Linked DNA regions of Homo sapiens: region 1 is linked to region 2. Evidence: promoter capture Hi-C in human tissues and cell types (Jung and others, 2019). All regions are on one chromosome and are shown on one strand. The core of a region is centred on a gene start or on the middle of the fragment in contact, and the rest is flanking DNA. Distances in the headings are between cores, read along the strand shown.

Region 1 (4,412 bases), core at 31-2,530, 710 kb before region 2:
TTGAATACTCTGGGATCCTCTTCTCTGATTGGTGACTTGGCAGGGAAGGCTCCCTCTCTCTCCTTTAGAATTGTTGGTGTCTGGCTGCCTGGGAGGGCCTTTGTGTATGCCAGGATAGTGAGTGGCTTTATCCACTATGGTTATCTGCCATGGGCTTCTCAGCCTACTAAACCCCCAACCCAAGCAATGCCCAGGATCCCAGGAACAGGCTCCTGAGCTTCTCAGTAAGGGACCTGCCAAGGTACTCACGTGGCCTGGGATGCCTCTTGCCCTTGCGGCCTGCCTGAGCTGAACTGTCTCAGCGTCCAGGAATGTAGACTTCTCTGCCAGTCTTAGCTCAGACTGGCGTGAAGCTTGGGGTGCCAAGTGGCACCAGATTGGGTAGACAGGAGGCTGAGGCCGGGGGCCAGGGGTGTGGACAAATTGGAAGGATTGGTGGTAGAGAGCAACAGGGCTCTGGCTTCTCCCAACATAGTATCTTCTGCAGTAGCCCTCCAGCACCTGGTGTGGCTGGGAGGTGGAGTTCTGCTAGCTACAGTTAGGCGCCTGTGGGCACATCTGCCACTGTGCACACTCCAGGTGCCCCTGGCTACATTTTCCAGCTCCCACATGCCCTCCCCCTCCAGGTACTCACACTTCCCGGGCAGGACTGGGCTTGTGTCTACTGCCTGGGAATGTGCTTGGCTGAGGCCGGGCCTGGTGGCCTAGTCTTGGCCTGATGCCAGGGGAGACCAGGGAGCATGCAGAGGGTGCTTAGTCAGAAAGAAAGGTGGTGGTCGCTCCCTAGACTTGCAGTGCACAGCTCTCCTAAGGTCACAAAACAAGAAAGAGTGGGAGCAAATTCAGGACCCCCCCGGTTCATCTGACTGATCCATGGTTTTTCCCCTTGTTCCCTATCTCAGTTTTTTTTTGTGACCCTGGAAGTTGCTGCCTCTCAGACTGACTCTTCTACCCTTCTACCCAAGGGGCAGATAGATGGATCATGGATACAGGCTGGGGTTGGGGGACAGGTGTGTCTGTGTTCTCTGAACATTTGTGTGTGTGTGTGTGTGTGTGTGTGTGTGTGTGTGTGTGTGTGAGACGGAGTTTCGCTCTGTTGCCCAGGCTGGAGTGCAGTGGTGTGATCTCGGCTCACTGCAGCCTCTGCCTCCTGGATTCAAGCAATTCTCTTGCCTCAGCCTCCCAAGTAGCTAGGACTACAGGCGCACGCCACCACCCCCAGCTAAGTTTTGTATTTTGAGTAGAGACGGAGTTTCACCATGTTGGCCAGGCTGGTCTCGAACTGCTGACCTCAGGTGATCCGCCCGCCTTGGCCTCCCAAAATGCTGGAATTACAGGTGTGAGCCACCATGCCTGGCCTCTCTGAATATATTTTTACAGAGTACTTTCACATACACTGTCTTATTAACCCTACAAGATCAGTGGTATTGTCCCCATTTTTCTGATTAAGAGAACTAGATTCAGAGGTGAAGTTACTTCACCCAGAGATCTCACAGCTAGTAAGAAGAGGAATTAGGACGAGGACTCAGATCTTGGGACTCACTCACCAGTGCTTTTTCTACTCTGTCTTGTGCTGCGGAGCCCTGGAGGTGCCCATCTCAAGCACAGGCAAGGTCAGGTGTGGACTGTGTGGACTCTGAGAGCAGATGAGGATGGGTCTTTAGAGCTGAGGTGAGCCTGCTAGTGCTGTGAGGTGGGGTAACTTCAGTCCTGCCTGCCCTTCCAAGTGTTTTCTCTCTTTCTTCCTTTCTTTTTTTTTTTTTTTTTTTTTTTTTTTTGAGACAGAGTTTAGCTCTTGTCATGTAGGCTGGAGTGCAGTGGCATGATCTCAGCTCACTGCAACCTCCGCTTCCTGGGTTCAAGCTATTCTCTGATCTCAGTCTCCTGAGTAGCTGGGATTATGGGATTACAGGCGTCCACCACCACACCCGGCTAATTTTTGTATTTTTAGTAGAGACGGGACTTCACCACATTGGCCAGGCTGGTCTCCAACTCCCGACCTCAGGTGATCCACCCTCCTCCGCCTCCAAAAGTGTTGGGATTACAGGTGTGAGCCACCACACCTGGTCTTCAAGTGTTTGCTTTCTCTGCAGGCTGCATGTTGTGCCTGGGTCAGTCCACCTTCCTTCGCTTTAACCACCCGGCTGAAGCCAAGTGGATGAAAAGCATGATTCCAGCAGGGGGCCGAGCCCCTGGGCCCCCCTACAGCCCTGTTCCTGGTAGGTACCGACGGGGGCAGGGTGCTGGGTTGATGGTGTTCCTGCAGCAGTCCTCCTCCTTGCTCACTTCAGCCACACTTGGAGTGTTAGGGCAAGACAATACCTAAGGTCTGGGCTCACTGCCACCTGCCATGGGCGGGTGGAGAATGCCAGGCAGTGGGGCCACTGAGAGCTAACCAAGGCAGTGCTGCTTAGCTAAAATTGGGAAATTATGTGCCTCGAGGGATGGCAAGCTCTGCCAGCTTGTACCCCACTGCCCTGGAGGATGCCACTCAGTGTCTGGAACTCTGGCCCACTTGTGTCACCACAGGGAGCCTCACCCTCTAGGGTACCCTGAGGGGCAGAAGGAAGCATTAGGTTGAACTCCCTGTAAGCTGTGGTGGGGATCATGTCCTTGGGCCTCGCCCAACCCTCACTCCATGCCCTGCCCGCTGATGACTCAGTGGAGCAGCTGTATTTTGTGTGTGAATTATTGATCCCCAGAAGAGAATTGGTGATTGTTCTGGGGAACCAACACAGGCCCCCTCAGCCCAGCTGCACAGGGGGGCAGGAGGGGTGCAGACCAGGAGGCTATTATGGGTTTACCATCTCAGACTTTGCACTGGCATTTAGATGGCTATGGGGTGACAGGTGCTGGGACAGATGGACATGGATGTCAGGTACACCTAGTGGGGTGGTATCAGCAGCCTAAGTGGATAGCCTGGGGACCTGAAGAAAGGTGAGTGATCACTGGGATTATCAGTATCCATGGCATCCCCTCTGACTATATCCCACACAGTCTCCATAATTTTGGACCCAAACTCAGTCTTGCAAAGGCTTTCCCTTCTCTTTTCCCTACCCTCGATCTTTTCCAGTCCTCTGGGGGCTCAGAAGCCTGGGTTCCCAGTCTACTCCCTAGTTAATTTTACCCTGCCCCCACCCCAGCCTTGTCATGTCACTCCCTTAGCTGTTTGGGGCAGTGGTTCCAGGGACTCCTATATGGTTGACTAGTGCTGGGGCATGGCAAAAGCAGGCTCTTGCTGGCATGGCTTAATGGGATAATTGGAGGCACTGAGCTTCACCTCCTTGCTGGCAGCCTGGCTTCCAGGAACCAGCCATTAGCACTAGCTCCCTCCCCTGCCTCTGATTGGACGAAGTGGTGCAGCACACACCCCTCACCCAGCCCTGCAGGCTTTTTTCTTTTTCTTTTTTTTTTTTTACCCCTGGGCCTCTGGTTCCTACATTGGGAGGCCCTGACATCCTATTAGACTAGGAGCCCCTGGAACTTCTGGCCAGCTCTGCAGCAGGCGCCCATCTTCTTTGTATAATGCCTTCTGTTTTCTTTTTTCTTTTTTTTTGTTTTGAGATGGAGTCTCACTCTGTCGCCCAGGCTGCAGTGCAGTGGCGCGATCTCGGCTCACTGCAACCTCCGCCTCCTGGGTTCAAGTGATTTTCCTGCCTCAGCCTCCCGAGTAGCTGGGACTACAGGTGCATGCCACCACACCCGGCTAATTTTTTATTTTTAGTAGAGATGGGGTTTCACCATGTTGGCCAGGCTGGTCTCGAACTCCTGACCTCAGGTGATACATCCATTTCGGCTTCACAAAGTGCTGGGATTACAGGCGTGAGCCACCACGCCTGGCCTCTTTTTTTTTTGAGACAGTCTTGCTGTGTCACCCAGGCAGTTCTCAGCTCACTGCAACTTCCTGGGTTCAAGCGATTCTCATACCTCAGCCTCCTGAGTAGTTGGGATTACAGACATGTGCCACCATACCCAGCTAATTTTTTGTATTTTTATTAGAGGTGGGGTTTCACCATGTTGGCCAGGCTGGTCTTGAACTCCTGTCCTCAAGTGATCTGCCCGCCTTGGCCTCCCCAAGTGTTGGGATTACAGGCGTGAGCCACCGTGCCTGGCCTACGTGCCCTTCTTGAGGAGGGATATAGGATATAGATTGGAGGAGTCTAGTCTTGGGGTGAATTGACAACAATAGTCTTAGAAGTGCCTATCATTGTTAACTGTTTTAAGTCACAGGCAGGAAGGCCCTGCCGATTCCCTTCCTTTACAGAAGGAGAAACTGAGGACAAGTGACTTGGCTAAGGTTGCATAGCAGGTCAGTGGCAGAGCTAGCTGGTACCAGAACCACATCTCCTGGCTTCTTCTCCAGAGCCTTGTTAGCCTCACTGTGCTAGGAGGAGGGGGGCTAGTGCTCTGGC
Region 2 (4,741 bases), core at 1,942-4,441:
AGAATATAGCTAGTTAAATACACATGCGTGTTTTCTCTATATTTACATATATGCAAATTTAAAGATAAATAGGAATTAATATTGAAAAATGTTCCTCAGCCACATTGCACAAACCACGTTAATTTCTTTTCTTCTTTCTTTCCTTTTCTTTTCTTCTTTTTCTTTCTTTCTTTTTTTTTTGTAAGATGTGTAGGACAGAGTCAGCACGGTGGCTCACGCCTGTAATCCCAACACTTTGGGAGGCCGAGGCAGGCAGATCACTTGAGGCCAGGAGTTCAAGACCAGCCTGGCCAACATGGTGAAACCCCGTCTCTACTAAAAATACAAAAGTTAGCTGGGTGTGGTGGTGCACGCCTGTAGTCCCAGCTACTGGGGGAGACTGAGGCACAAGAAGCACTTGAGCCTGGGAGGTGGAGGTTGCAGTAAGCTGAGCTCGTGCCACTGCACTCCCGCCTGGGTGACAGAGCGAGACTGTCTCAAACAAGTGCAGAAGAGCTGAAGAGCTTCTTCGGGCCTGAACCGTGTTGTTTGCAGAGCTGACGTTTGGGGCTATAGGCTTTTCCGTACCAGTAACGAGCACTGGATCCTGACTGATAGAGGACCCAGGTGCTCCTTTATGGAGACATTTGTTGTCTATGTTTGTAATACTTGGGGTCCTCTCAAGCTTGGGTGGCACTGGGAGGGAACAGGGTGGAGGGTACAAGGATGAAAGCAAACCTTCTGTGACTGTATCTTTTTATAAAGTTTTGACTTTGGGACCCTGTAAATGATTTGCATAATTAAAAAACAAAATAAAAAAAACCAACCTAAAACATGGCAATAATATAGATTTTACTGAATGCTTGATGAGGAGACGATGGGGAGGGCCGTAATATACACAATAGCACAAAACAAAACCCCTGAATTAGACATTCTTTTCTGGTTTTTCCAATCTCTTAATCCTCAGTCCTTCATAGTCTCTAAAAATCCCTTCTATTGTCCCAGCTAGAATCTTACGCTGAGCAAAACAAAACTAAACAAAAAAACCCCTGAAGTTAGCACAACAGCAGAAACCAGCTGCCACCAGAGCAGGCCTCCAGAGGGCTTTACACTACATCTTCCATTAGAAAATACTGCAAGGATAGGGCTTCTAGGTGTTCAGCTTTCTCAATATCTGGCTTATTTTCTTCTCAATCCCTGGGACTAACATTGTCAAACAATTTGAACTGCCTCCCCAAAGCCAGTTGGAGTCTTTGTCCCTGCCCAAAGCAGGATTACCTGCTAGGTTTCCTGGGAGTCAAGGGTTGTGGCTCATTAAAGAGGGCTTTGGATTAGTGAGTCTCAAATCACTCAAAGGGGAGGTCTTGGTCCTAAACGAATGGAAATTCTCTCTTAGAGGATCCTGCCAACTCTGAGAAGGACTTTACATGCTTCTTGGTGTGGAAAACTGGCCAGTTAATTGCACGCAGTGCAGGCACAGCACGTTTGCCAAGTTTGACTTTGGACATATTGTGTAGGAAGCACCAGTGGGATACCCATGAACCGTTCATGTCCAGGAAGCAGCTGGAGCCTGAAGTTTGCAGGACAGGTTCAGGCTGAAGACACAAATTCAGAAATCATCGTGTATACAGGAGAGGAGGCTATGATGGAAACAGAAAGAATATAGGAAAGGGTAATGATTCTGAGGCCAAGGGTGGAGGAAGTGGTGTCAAGTGCTGGAGGAAGATTGATTAATAACAACATAGTGTTCACTGGACAAATAAGATCCCTTAAGAGGAGATGGTACGGGCGATGGGATCAACTGTCTTGAAAGGGAGGTGGGCACATTCTCCAAGATTTGACACTGGCGGGAGGATGCGAGTAGGAAAATAAAAACATCAGCAACACATCACAACACAACAAACCATAACCTGGCCAGGGCCTGAGAGCAGGGAGAGAGAAAGGGTAGGAAGAAGCCAGAGGAGTTTCAGCGACTGCAGTCCTTCCTCTGCACTATAGCGTACCCCTACCACGATCCCAAGGCCTCAGTAAAGGTTTGCTGCACACCTCAGCTTCTTATCAGTGATGCTTTGGAGAATGAAGGACTCTGAGGCAGTGTTCAGGGCAGACTGAAGGAGGACGGACACTTTCAGGAGCCCAGGAGTGGAGATGGAGAATTCAACTCAAGTAGGAAATTCAGCAAAGGTGACCAGGGGAAAGATAAGTCCACTAGGAGTCTGCTAAGCATCCTTGGAGTTAGTAGAAAACGCCAGGATTCCCAATATATTTGGGATGGGGTTTCAAATATATTTTGACTATTGTTTGAGTATTAAAGAAAAGGGCAGGGCCGGGCTTGGTGGCTCACGCCTGTAATCTCAGCACTTTGGGAGGCCGAGGCGGGTGGATCACGAGGTTCAGGAGTTCGAGGCCAGCCTGGCCAACATGGTGAAACCTCGTCTCTACTAAAAATACAAAAATTAGCCGGGTGAGGTGGTGGGCACCTGTACTACCCGGGAGGCTGAGGCAGGAGAATCGCTTGAACCCGGGAGGCAGAGGTTGCAGTGAGCCGAGATCGCGCCACTGCACTCTAGGGTAGGAAGGCCCAGGGTAGGAAGCTGAGCGGTTTCTAAATCTGTAGCCCCTTTTTCTCAATGACAATGAAGTAATCTTCCGAGATGTTGAAAAACCTGGTGAGGAAAGTTTGGAATAGCAGTTTGGGAATCCCCTGTAATAATCTGCTTTCCCTTGTGAACAGCAGGCACTGTCTTAAAATTTTTTTGTATCCTCAATGCACTGTAGGAGTTCAATAAATGATAGAATAGATGAATAAATAGAAGAGAATGAGGAGACGGATCTGGGCAGGCTGCGAAGGCGGTGCTATTCCAAAGCCCAGCCCAGAGGCAGTGACCTCCGACCCAAGCCAAAAAAAAAACCTCGCGTTCAGAGGCCGGGAGAAAGAACAGCTCCCAAATTGAGGGGAGTCCAAGACCCTGCTCTTTTAGAGGGTGGGGCTAGGAGAGCGTATTTCGACGCTGCCCGCCAACGAACCAATCCCCGCCTAAAGGGGGAGGGGATTTAATCTGTCGCCTCTCCTTCCCTTTGGAAAGTAAATACGTTCGGGCGCCATTCAAACGGACCAATGAGTGATCGACGTTTTTGTGGTTGGCCTTCACCGATTGGCTGGAGTTTGTCGTCCCTCCCTCCTCGTCACGCCTCTGGCTCCACCCCTTTGCACACAAGATGGCGGCGCCCAGCGGAGTAGGGGCTGCGCTTGGGGTTTGCTGAAGCTGGCTGCCTCTCCCACTCCCCTTTTGGGTGCAAAGCGCCGCTAGCGGGAAGACGGGGGCCGGGCGGGGACAGGGGCACCTGCGTAGCTGGACTGAGAGCCTGCGCCCAGCTTACATCGACCCCACCCGGCCCCGGCCCGACCCGACGCGACCCGATCCGATCCGATCCCATTCCATCCGTTCCTCGTCTCCTCCCGGTCTGACCCGTTGCCCGGCCGTGGTTCGCCACACCAGGCATCCAAAGCTGAGGTCGCTCCTACGGCCTGGGCTCGCCTTCGCTTTAGAGATGTTTGGCCTCTTCCCTCCCAAACAGCCCATCTTCAAAACCTGGACTCTTGGACTGGCACCTGGCCACCTTTCCCTCTACCAAGACTCCACTTCCGTCTTACCCACTTCTTCCTCAGATTCTTGGTACCCCCTGGGTTGGAGACTGCTCATTTTCCTTCCAAATTAATCCCAGACCCCCTAAAATATTGACAACCTTGACAACCCCCCAACCGAGGAGCCAGACTTTGTTTTGGACTAACTTCCATAGCCCTATCATGGAGGCAGTGTACCTGGTAGTGAATGGGTTGGGCCTGGTGCTGGACGTGCTGACCTTGGTGTTGGACCTCAACTTCCTGCTGGTGTCCTCCCTCCTGGCTTCCCTGGCCTGGCTCCTGGCCTTCGTCTACAACCTGCCGCACACGGTACTGACTAGTCTTCTGCACTTGGGCCGCGGAGTCTTGCTTTCATTGCTGGCCTTGATCGAAGCCGTGGTCCGGTTCACATGTGGGGGCTTGCAGGCCTTGTGTACTCTGCTGTATAGCTGCTGCTCTGGCCTAGAGAGCCTAAAGCTCCTGGGGCACCTGGCCTCTCATGGGGCACTGCGGAGCAGGGAGATACTGCACCGGGGCGTCCTCAATGTGGTCTCCAGTGGCCATGCTTTGCTGCGCCAGGCCTGTGACATCTGTGCCATTGCCATGAGCCTGGTGGCTTATGTGATCAACAGCCTGGTCAACATCTGCCTCATCGGCACTCAGAACCTCTTTTCCCTGGTGCTGGCCCTGTGGGATGCAGTGACCGGGCCTCTGTGGAGGATGACGGACGTAGTGGCTGCCTTCCTAGCCCACATTTCCAGCAGTGCTGTGGCCATGGCCATCCTCCTTTGGACACCCTGCCAACTAGCCCTGGAGCTGCTGGCCTCAGCTGCCCGCCTCCTGGCCAGCTTTGTGCTTGTCAATCTCACTGGCTTGGTGTTGCTAGCTTGTGTGCTGGCAGTGACGGTGACTGTGTTGCATCCGGACTTCACCCTGAGGCTGGCTACCCAGGCACTCAGCCAGCTCCATGCCCGGCCATCCTACCACCGTCTTCGAGAGGATGTCATGCGGCTCTCTCGCCTAGCACTGGGCTCAGAGGCCTGGCGCCGAGTCTGGAGCCGCAGTCTGCAGCTGGCGAGTTGGCCAAACCGGGGAGGGGCACCTGGAGCTCCCCAGGGTGACCCTATGAGGGTATTC

Evidence for each region. Contacts are between HindIII fragments. The study calls those that stand out against the background at their distance.
Region 1: a fragment that was not itself captured here is called in contact with the fragment with the promoter of RNF26 in region 2 in 1 of the 25 tissues and cell types used here (dorsolateral prefrontal cortex).

Annotation. Positions count from the first base shown.
Region 1 is chr11:118,622,841-118,627,252 of GRCh38, forward strand. PHLDB1 (pleckstrin homology like domain family B member 1) reads left to right here. Exons shown (of 23, transcript NM_001144758.3): 5 at 2,094-2,219. Among named protein-coding and RNA genes, the nearest start is that of PHLDB1, 17 kb to the left of the region's middle. The HindIII fragment of the contact is 8,405 bases long and covers 1-4,412 here.
Region 2 is chr11:119,331,336-119,336,076 of GRCh38, forward strand. RNF26 (ring finger protein 26) reads left to right here and starts at 3,192. Exons shown (of 1, transcript NM_032015.5): 1 at 3,192-4,741. The coding sequence starts at 3,788. RefSeq lists an enhancer at 2,834-3,725. The HindIII fragment of the contact is 13,723 bases long and covers 1-4,741 here.